Regions from separate parts of the Homo sapiens genome. Here all the other regions are linked to region 2. The links are contacts of gene promoters, found by promoter capture Hi-C in human tissues and cell types (Jung and others, 2019). All regions are on one chromosome and are shown on one strand. Each heading gives the region's core, a stretch centred on a gene start or on the middle of the fragment in contact. The rest is flanking DNA. Distances are from core to core; before and after follow the strand shown.

Evidence for each region. Contacts are between HindIII fragments. The study calls those that stand out against the background at their distance.
Region 1: a contact is called between a fragment that was not itself captured here and the fragment with the promoter of TENM4 in region 2, in 1 of the 25 tissues and cell types used here (IMR-90 fibroblasts).
Region 3: a contact is called between a fragment that was not itself captured here and the fragment with the promoter of TENM4 in region 2, in 1 of the 25 tissues and cell types used here (IMR-90 fibroblasts).

Annotation. Positions count from the first base shown.
Region 1 is chr11:79,067,897-79,071,685 of GRCh38, forward strand. TENM4 (teneurin transmembrane protein 4) reads right to left here. Exons shown (of 34, transcript NM_001098816.3): 5 at 1,826-2,113. The coding sequence starts at 2,048. Among named protein-coding and RNA genes, the nearest start is that of TENM4-AS1, 23 kb to the right of the region's middle. RefSeq lists an enhancer at 1,853-2,409. The HindIII fragment of the contact is 6,519 bases long and covers 1-3,789 here.
Region 2 is chr11:79,438,996-79,442,279 of GRCh38, forward strand. It overlaps TENM4 (teneurin transmembrane protein 4), which reads right to left and starts at 2,035. Exons shown (of 34, transcript NM_001098816.3): 1 at 1,514-2,035. RefSeq lists silencers at 1,624-1,733, 1,994-2,163. The HindIII fragment of the contact is 13,466 bases long and covers 1-3,284 here.
Region 3 is chr11:79,104,771-79,108,546 of GRCh38, forward strand. The region is part of intron 4 of TENM4 (teneurin transmembrane protein 4); the gene reads right to left. Among named protein-coding and RNA genes, the nearest start is that of TENM4-AS1, 13 kb to the left of the region's middle. The HindIII fragment of the contact is 5,008 bases long and covers 1-3,776 here.

The DNA of each region.
Region 1 (3,789 bases), core at 83-2,582, 370 kb before region 2:
ATGATAATCTATGACCTGCTACCTTCAAAGGATTTTTGAGGATCCAGGGTGATAATTTGAAGGAGAGTATTTTGTAAACTGCTACGCACATGCCTGCCTATGAGATGAGAATGCTTATTTGTTATTTACAAAGACAAGGAGCCGCCCCTTCCCTGAGCCTCATGTGCTAGGTCCAAGCCAACCGGGGCTCACTGAGCTCTGTCACTTACGGACAGGACGGAGCAAAAGAAAAGCTTTCAGAGACCATTTTGTCTCTTCTCTTCAGTGAGATCCAGAGATGACAATGAATAACAGGCAGCATTTCTGAAGCATCTGTTCTGTGCCAGGTACTGGTGTCAAGTGTTTCATTTATAGTTCTCATCAATCCTCACCACCTATTAGGTACTGTTTATCCCTTTGCACAGGTAAAGTAGCTGAGAATACTAAAAATGGCAGAGCCACAGTTCAAATCTAGGTCTGTTTGATGCCAGAGTTGGAGCCTTAACCATAAGCTGGGAAAGGGACTGCTCATTTTTCAAGCCTCACAGGCAGAACAGGTCAGCTTTCACATGGATACAGGCCTGTGGGAGAGAATGGAAATGAAGAGGTCATAGGTGTGCTCTGTGTGTGTGTGTGGCCAGCTCCTCTTACCTCTGTGATCTTGGGCAAATGATTCACCCTGGGGTTGTTATGAGAATTAAATAACACTGTCAAAATGCATATACATTACATAGCACAGTGCTCAGCTGACCCTGTCTGTGAAGGGGGAGAAGGGCAGAGCAAATCAGGGTGGGCTGCACAAATTGTCAGGCATTGGTCATGACCCAACAGGCATCAAAGAGGGCTCAAGCCTCTGCAGGCAGAAAAACAGGAATCACCGAGGCACCAGGGTAGGAAAGAAATATCATGGCAGGTCTGGAAACTTGAGCAGTTCAGCAGGGCTGGCCCATGAGTGGTGGAGTGTGGAGAGTTAGGGGACAAAAAAAGTCTAGAAAAACAGAAACAGATTTGGGGAAAGAGTTCTATGCTAGGGGGAGCTCAGTTTAAGGGCAACAGGGAGTCACCCCCAAGCTTCATCTGGCTGCAGTACAGAGAATGGCTAGAGGCGGGCAGCTCTGGGTGAAGGGGGGTGGTTGTGGTTAATCCTCCAAGAAAAATGATAATGGTTTGCACTGGGAAGTATCAGAGGGAATGGCTAAGAAGAATGGATTTGAATACTGGGGCAGGATGGATAGGCTTTGGGGACTACTGTAGGTAGAAAGTGCAGGAGAGGGAGCCAGGCACCAGAATATCCTACAAATTACTAAGTTTTCATGTCTAACCATCTCGGGAAGGTCTTCCTCTCAAGGTCACACAGGGCTTGACACAAAGAAACTGCTAAATATGTTTGTTGAATGAACAGCAAAACTAGGAACTAACATTTATTCAGCGCTTACTTGGTATTATCAGGCTTACCACTTAAAGGCCATCTCATTAAGTCCTCAGGACAATTCAGTGCACTAGGGAGGCTTCTCACGGCCATGTAACAGTTGAGGACTGAGGCTTAGAGGGGAGCCTAACTCAACTCTAGGCAGGTAGACAAACACTGGAGCCCAGCTCCTAACCACCTCACTATGCCAGGGAAGTGGGTGAGCGAGAAAATAAATGAACTAAGAATGAACTACAGGGCAGGCTTTTTACCAGGTCCAAGTGCCCAAATGGCAGAAACTTGCTGTTGATATGGCACCCCAACTGGTGTTCCAGCTCACCTGTGCCACGCCCACCTGCGCCACGCCCACCCGAGCCCATGCCTACCTGAGCCAAGCTCACCTGCGCCTGAGGCCCGCCCCCTCGGCCTTGTCCTTACCTGTGCGGCAGAATTCCTCGGCCTCCTGCGGCACAATGTCCTTGACGCGGCTGCCATAGGCTAGGCGGGCGTCCTGGTCGTAGGCCTTCAGGGTCTCGCTGGAGCTGTACGATTTCTGCGGGGCTTTGCCCTCCTCGCTGTCCGCGGACGAGCTGGTGTAGCGGCGCTCGGCGTCGCGGCGCCGGGTCAGCGAGCGGTAAGGCTTCCTCTCCTTCACGTCCATGGCCTCCGGCCCGCGCTCCTCCACATCCACAAACAGGGTCCTCGCCGCACTCAGGGCCGAGTGGTCTAGAGCCAGGGAAACCAAAGATAGGGCGTGAGAGGCAGAGAACATTCCCGGGTTCATCCTGGTCCTGGATTCACCCTTGCAGCCCTGTGGACAGAGAACCCCAGGCAGTGGAGGAGAGGGTACCGCTCCACCACTACGCAGCCCATAAGTGGCAAAGGAAAGTCGCACCCAGGACCTCTAATTACAAATCCTGGCCCTTTTTGCTACTTAGCCTATTCACCTTGAGGAGGCCTCCTCCAGTGATGGGCACCGAGGAAGCTGACAGCAAAGGCCAAAGGGCACTGGTGGTTAGTAATATTCCTAGGTAGGAACCAAGCCTGTTTGGTTCCCATCACATCCCACATGGAGCAGGGCCTGACCCAGCTCTGGCCCAGGGCTCCTTAAAAATCTGTGAGATGAATGATTGCATGCAAACACTGGGGTAAGCACTTTGCATATATTATCTTAGTAAATCTTGATATCTTCTGAGATGTTATTACTCTCTCCAACCTCTTTTGGAAACGAGCTAAGGTATAAACAACCAACCCACACTTACCACTACCAGATGATTATATAATTATTTGCTTTTTGCCCATCTCCTTCTGCTAGTCTGTAAGCTCTATGAGAGCAGAAACTTTACCTGTACTGCTCACTCCTGGTCTCTAGCACCTCGAACAAGGGCTGGTACACAGTAGGCGCATAATAAAGATGTGTTTAATTAACCAGCTAACCATCCCCATCTGACAGATGAGAAAACTGAGACTCGGAACCCCCTTCAAGGTCACTTAGGTGTCAAGTAAAAAAGCCAGGATTGGAACTCTGATCTGTTTGGCTCTAAAGCCTGCATTTTTCCTATTCCATTCTGCCTCCCTGAGACGTCTCCCTCCTACTCTTAGTACACAAAAGTGCCCTTCCAGTTACTCAGAGAATGTCCCTCACCTCCAGACTTGCCCATCTCCTCAGTGCCACCGTCAGCACTGGGCAGCACAGTGTCTGCCCCATCCATCTGGGTGTTGCTAGAAGGTCTGACTGGTGGGAAGCTCCTAATAGCCCTTTCTCCTCTTTTCCCCATCTTGACCCTTCTGCCCTACACTGACACCCCTGGATTTTTGAGTTGTGATAGCACCCTCTTTCTCCCTCCAAATGTCTTCTTTGAGCTCTGGGGTAGCAAACACAACCATACAGGGCCAGGAGCTCAATACAGAAGGAAAGCAGAATATCCTCCGCAGAGACATAGGGCATCACTTAGTTTTTATGAAACACAACCTGCTCAGTTCTGGCTTTCTGTTGCTCCATCTTTCAGAGCAGCATGGGTACACAAGACATTCCCCTGCTTCACTATCCAATTAGAGAGACAACAGAGCAAGAGCTGTGATAAATGCTGCCAACATCAGATCTCAGTGTCCAGGGTGGGGCCTTGACAGCTGGGAGGGTGGGTCTGTCCAAGTGCTTGCCTGTGCTGCAAAGTGGGAGTGTGGGTGGGAGTGTCTGGGGGGTGGGGGTGTCTTGTGAATTTTTAAGACAAGCTGGAAATTTGGAGTTAGATATAAAAGCTATGACTTTAAAATGTTGATCCATTATTATTATTTAATTTTAATACTTTGCAGGCCAAACAAAAGAGACTTCTGAGTTGAATTTGCTCTGAGGCTCGTAGTTTCCAAATTCTGCCTTTGACCATGGACATCAGAGGTAGCTC
Region 2 (3,284 bases), core at 785-3,284:
TCGAGAACCGGGAGCTCGCATCACAGTTCCGGGTAATCACCGAGGCAGCTTATGTAATTGCCCGCGATGCCGCTCAGCAGATCTCTCTCCTTACTCGGCCTCAGAGCTCAGTACATGGGCACCCTCTTCCCCCCACCCCCCACCCCGGCGATTGGAATCCCGAGCTTGCCCCACCACCGCCTTCTACAAAGCAGCGGGGTGATCTCGTGTGCTACAAACACCAAGCCAGTATGCAGGTTCAGGCAAAACTCTGGCTGCCTCCCTGCGCCCCTTTCACTGCGTCGATGGTTTACAGATAACTGCATTTCTATAAACCCTCTCTCCACGGTTAGGGGGTGGGAGGGAGTTAGAGATCGGGTGGGGGCTTGGCGCGGTACTGTTGAGGGCTCTGCACCCAACTGAGCAGTAATACACTCATCCACATGGACGCGGGTGCATAAATCGCCTTAACATTTTGCCCTGAAAGCGGAGCCAATTTCCAAAGTTAAGGACCACGCAGCTGAATTTCCAGTACTTTCCAACCTCGCCTAGGCGGGGGCAGGCAGAGAAGGGGCGGGCAGCGGGCAGCTAACTCGCCCGACCCCCCCGCCAAGAAGGACTCACTAGGTGAACCCCCCGCCCTTCACCCAAGTAGTTGGTTGTGTATTCCTCGGTTGCGTGTGTGTGTCCACACACACACACACACACACACACACACGCCGCCCCACTACCTTCCAGTCTGCTCCTCCAATGTAACGACCGCATTTAAAAATGGCAATTAAAATGACTGAGGAGCTCGGTGATCACATTTCAACCCAGAGCACATTTCCCGAAGCTGGGGGTGAGAGTAGTCATACAGTCACACTCACACCCGGGAGCCCTCCAAGCGTCCATCTGGCGGCTGCAGCCTCAGTTGGCTCCTAGACGAACATCAATACCGCGGCCGGGCGCCCGGTGAGGAGAGGCGGGCGCCCCGCGGGTTGCAGAGGGCGAGGAGCTGGGGTCGCATCTCCAGGATCTGAGCTCCAACCACCGCCCGTGCGGGGCTGCTGCAGCCGGCACTTGCCCCGCAGGGCAGGCTGCAGCCGCTGAAGCCCGGCGCCGCCTCGCGGGCTCCTCCAGCGCCCGACGGGGGCCTGGGGCGAGCTAGTCTGCAGAGGGGCTGCAGGCGACCGGGCCGGGGCGGGGAACGGGATCCGGGAGAGGCAGACGAACCTGGGGCGCGCCGCCTCCCTCCCACCCGCTTCCCACCTCCCTGCCCTCCCCCAACCCTTGCTCCCAGGCTCCAGTCCGCGGCGGGCTCCGGGGGCTGCGGCGGCTCCAGGCTCCAGAACAGCTTGCCTCTTCGGCCACCCGCGCCCTAGCCTCCCTCCTCCTGGGCCAGGGGAGCAAGCAAACATCTCCCGGAGCCCTCGGCAGCCGCGTGAGCTACCCGAACCCTGCCCGGGCCAGCAGTGCAGAGGGCGATGGAGCTGGCGAGGCGTCGCCGCGGTCCCCAAGGCGCTTTTCCGTAGAGCGGATCACGCCGCCTTACCGTGGCTGCAGGCTGCTACCGCCGGGGAAGCGGCGAGGACGGCGGCAGGGAGGCAAGGCGCCGCGCCGGTGGCTCCTCTCTCTCTCGGCGGCGCGGCTCCTCTGCTCCGCGAGCCGTAGCGGGGCGCCCAGGAAGGAGCAGGTCCGGGCTCTGCGCTCAGCTCCAGCGAGACCAACAATAGCTCCCGCGGGGAGCGGAGCCCCAGCGAGCCTCCAGCCGCGCGCGCACGACCGGCTCCCGCTCCCGGCCGCTCCCGGCCGGCGTCCCTGCCAGCACTGCTGCCCCACATGAAACAGCTGCAATCCCGAGGCTTCTGGGGGGTTGGGGCGGGTGTGTGCGCGCGCGTGTGTGAGTGTGTGTGTGTGTGTGTGTGTTTAATAGCTTCCCTTCTCTTCTTCCCCTCCCTGCCTGCTCGCCTGCCTGCCTCCGTCCCCCACCCTCGCTCTCTTACACACAGAAAGAGAGGGCGAGCGAGAGAGAGACACACACACACACGCACACGCACACGCAGGTTACATGAATGGGAGGCGGTAGCCAATCCTACGAGGCCGGCGAGCCGCGCGGCGCACTGGCGCTGGGAGCAGGGCCGCACTCCGGCGCGGGGGGGCGCCACGCAGGTGATGGGCGCCTCTCCGGGGGCCACGCGCGGCCGCTCCCTCACCCCAGTCTCGGTTCCTCTGTCTCCTTCCCCCTTCCTCTCCGCCGCCTTCTCCATCTTCTCTCCTTTTACCTCCTTTGCTTTCTCGAGTTCTCCGAGCTCTCTCAGTTCGGTATCTTTCTGGTCTCTTTCTTCTTTTACCCTCCTTGCTTGCTTTCTCTTCCCCTTTCTGAAACTTTCTCTTTTCCTTTCTGGACTTTCTTGTACTTCCTCTCCTCTTGCCTTTTGTTCTTTCCTCCTCCTTTGGCTTTCTCTCCAGGCTCCCCGTAGCACGGTCTCGTCCCCTCTCCCTCCTCTTCGCCTTTCCCTGGGTCTCTCTGGCGCCCAGGGCCTCCCTTCTGCCTGCTCGCTGGATGTTACTCCACACCCCCCACCCCAACACTTTTCTAGGGACGGTCTCTTTCAAGTTGCTACTGCAGCACAATCAGAGTAATTAAGAGCTGAGATCTTGAGTTCCTTCTTCAGGCATGCAAGATGCCCAAAGAAAGGCCCTCCTTCCTCGGACAACTTCCCCAAAACCATGGTAACAGCTACTGAGTCGTGATAACAATCACTTAAAAAATAGCAGTGATTGCGGTCCAAGAGATTTCTGTCCCTCGAATGTTTGGATCGTGATGGCAAGCACATTTCCAAGAGAAGGGCATTTTTATGTGATGAGAGCGGTAGTTTGACTGAGTGGCAACTTGGAAGGGCTTTGGGGAAGAGACTGGAGGAATTCCCACTCCAGCCCTGCTGCCTGCTGGCTAAAGGACTTAGTGCGAGCCATTTCCCCTTACCCGGCTTCAGTTTTCTCATCTATAAAATGGATGATACCGACTTCACCAGTTTTGGTGAGGATTAAAAGAGAGAACAATGGAAAGAAAGCACTGGGTGTATATGAGATGCTTAATTTATGTTAGTTTCCTTCTTTAAGACAACTTCCTTCATGATCTTCTGCTACAGTGTGTCTCTCTGATCTAAAGTAGTCAATGAAGGAGGAAATGTGACAATGCTAATTTCACATAAATGTGAAAGGAGGGGTAGGCTATTTTGAAAACTCTTCTGTGTGGTGAGGAGACTGTCTAGCCAGTTGCCATATGCTGATTATAAAGGCATCACAGATTATAAACGTGG
Region 3 (3,776 bases), core at 193-2,692, 330 kb before region 2:
TGAGAATGGGGCCATTTCACAGGTGAGCGATCCTACTGTACACAAAGCACTTTACAAGGCTCCAAGGGGGTTGAGAAGGAGATAGGAGGTGGGCTCATCTCCATCCCTTGGGCAAATACTGTCCAGCACCCTTGTGAAGTTTCTAAGCCTCAACTGAACGGCTGCTTGGAGCTAGTGACTTAGCCATTAGAGGTTTTAGTCATAGACATTATTTTTACAAAAATGATTTTAAAAGGTTTTAGAATACATAAATACATTCATGCATGTGCCAGAAAGATGCAATTTACAATTAAGTTCTATAATCACACCTGACCAAACCCACAACTCAATATAGCACAGGTGTGAGCCACCAACGAACCCCAATTTCAGTTCGAAAGGGTGAAATCATTATTTTCACCCTCTCAACATATTTAATAGTTGTTGTAAAACAAATGAATATAATTTGGCTTCATTTGGAATTCCCTTTTCTGTTATTGCTTCCTTGCAATTCTAGTTGAGCTGAAATCTATTAAATACAACAACTTCCCATCACCTGTGTGCTCAAGCAAATCCAGTCTGACACTGGGTGAAGAACTACAGTTTGGAAACACAGGAACAAAGGATGTGTGGAAACACTGACTTCTCATCCTCTAGAGTTCACATAATTCAAATCCAATTCTCCCCAGCCCTCCCAGCTCTGCCCTGCCTGCCTTCATTGAGGTCAGATAGCAGAGTGATGCTGATCCTTCATATAAAAACAGCACATCACAAGCTATAATATAAGTTCCACCTTTGTTGCTCCTGATGCTGGGAAGGTTGGCTGAGAAAACAAGGGCTCACTTTGCAGATGAGGCTCAGGTCAGGGAAAGGTGGAGCTGGTAGGGGCCTGCCAAATGAGGCAGGCTGGTCAGTGCCTATGTCTTTCCCCCTTCCCCAAGCTGGTTTCAGCCCCATGGTTTGAAGTAAAGAAGTCCCCAAACTTCAATTTGGCAGCTATTGCCCTAAACCAGATGACTAAAGGGCTGACTCTGAGCAGCAGTTTGCAAGAGCAAGGTAACAGTGTTGCTGGCTGGTTGAGAGAACCAGCTTATGCCGGGTGAACTCTACTTAGTATTATGAATTAATGGTGCTAGGAGATGCTAATTATGTTCTAAAGGCTTACCTAAGTAAAACAAAATGTTGGAAACTTTTATTTTGACATTTTGCTTTTCCATGAAATCTTAAAATCAGAACCACTGATTCATACAACCACAAACAAGAAGTTATATTATTTTTAACAAATTACCTAGATTCTAGTCACCACGCTAATGTCTCACACATGCTCTCTTCAAGCCTCAAGATAATCATATGAAGTGGAAATCATTATCTCCTTTTTATAGACCAGGAAACTGAAGCCCAGAAAGTAACATTATTTGCTCCAAGTCACAGAGTGAAGAAGTGGCAAAGGCAGGATCCTAACTCAAGTCTAGCGCCAGAGCATAGCTACCTAGATGAGGGAAGGAGGGCAGGAATCTCCCCAGCATAGCTGGGTAATGATGCTTTTATTCATGGATCACACCTTTGCAGAATACCCTCTGGGAGGAAGCCCAGCCTAGTGGAAAAAGGCTGCTTAGGGACAGGCAGTCCCAGGCTGGGGTCCTTGTGTTCCCCCTACCAGCAGAGTGACCAGCTGGCTGCTTAACCTCTCAGGGCTTCAGTGTCTCCAAGTGTAATGCAAAGATATGCTATCTTCCTGTTGTGTTGCTGGGAGGACTACAGGAAGAAGCATGTGAGGAAAGAGCTAAGCAGTGCCTGCCACATAGTAGGTGCTTGACAGACGTCGGTCCTCTTGCCTGTCCCTGAAGGGAAGCCACTGAGCAAGTCACCAACACTCAGGGCTTAGGGTTGGATGTGCTCTTTGATGTCAGCTGGCTCAACTCTCCCACTTTACAGATGGGAAAACCGAGGTTCAGAAAGGAATGGCAACTTGTCCAAGATCACAGTGCAGGGCAATGGCAGAGATGGGACAAGAACTCATCTGCTGACCCGCATCTTCTGCTTTTTCTACAACAGCCTGTTGGTAACTTTACCTCTTCATGGCAGCTGCCAAGTGAGCTATAATGTAAGTAGATTAGAGATGAAGAACAGCATGAATATTTTGATGGGTTAGTGAAAGGAAAACAATAACTATTTGACCAAAGAGTAATTGTCTAGAATATACTTTCTTATTTATCAAATAAGTATGCAGCACTTACTCTGCACCTGCCCGGAACTGTTCTAAGGCCTTCACAAACATGAGCTTGCTTCATCATCAGTACAATCCTAGGAGGAAGTTACTCTTTCTATCATCCCCATTTTATGGATGAGGAACAGGTGGCACAGAGAGGTTAACTTGCTCACGGTTCTATTTCTAGTAAATGGGCAGAGCTGGGATCTGAATCCAGGCAGCATGGCTACAGGGTCCATATCATAATCACTATGGCATGCTGCTTCTCACAAGGAATAATGAATTTATTTTTACTGTATACAAGACTGCACATTACTTGAGAATACTAATCATAATCATAATCATAATCATAGTGGCATTAATAGGAAAAAATACAAACAGACGATCCCCTCTGTGAGTTTCTTTGGAAACTTAATGGTACCTCCCCAAGTTTCCAAAATTCTCCTTCCCCATCTCTCCACCCACCTCTGTGGCACATCCCATTCCCCTCACCTGGAAATATTTTCCTTCCTTGTCTGACTTCCAGTCTTATCCTTCAAGACTCAGCTAGGATATCACTAGCTTTGGGAAAGCCTTTCCAACAGTGTCTCAATCACAGAGGGTCAATGTTCCCTGATTCAGCAGGGTTTGACCTTGTGTCCATGATGAGAATGGCTAAAAAAGATAATGACTTTCCTCAAAGAACCTTCCCAGTGGTCTCAGATCACTCCGCTCATCAATGATGCCCAGGAGTAAGATCATAGTCACTTCACTGAGGCATGGATGTGTCTAATGCCCTTGATGCCACACGCATTTATGGGATAGCTTCTTTGCACCTGGCATTTTCACACGTTATTGCATTTAATGAACATTCCAAGCTTTGAGGCAAGTACTGTCAACCCTATTTGAGCAAGAAGGACCCTGGATTGGGAAAATCAGATAACTTGTCTGAGGCCACACAGCCAGCTAAGTGATAGCACTGGGATCTGAAGCCAGGTTCCCAAATCCCTTCTCCAAGAGAAAGCTATTTATGTAACTGTCACAGTAAAAATTGATCCTGGCAAGAACTAGCAATAGATGCTTAATTCATGGGGAAAAGGTTGGACTACTTACATAGTCTTGAAGTTGTCTCCCTCCAAAATTCGTATTACAAAAAGGAAAATGATAATGGGAGGAACTGGAGACCATCTGGGATGCTTAGTTTTGTGTCAATGTGGCCAGGCCTTAGTGCCCAGTTATTTAGTCCAATGCAACTCTAGGTGTTGCTGTGAAGATACTTTGCAGATGTGGTTAATATCTACAGTCAATTGACTTTAGGTAAAGGAGATGACTTGATAATACGAGTGGCCTCATCCAATGAGTTGAAAGGCCTTAAGAGCAAAAACTGAGGTTTCTCAGAAAGAAAGATGTTCTACTTCAAGACTGCAGCATCAACTCCCGCCTGAATTTCCAGGCTGCTGGCCTAGCTGACACATTTCAGACTTGCCAGCCCCACAATCACGTGAGCCAATTCCTTAAAATAATATGTATGTATATATTAAGAGATTACACATATGTATACTGTGTGTGTGTGTATATATATATATGTAGAACATATATATGTAGGTATACA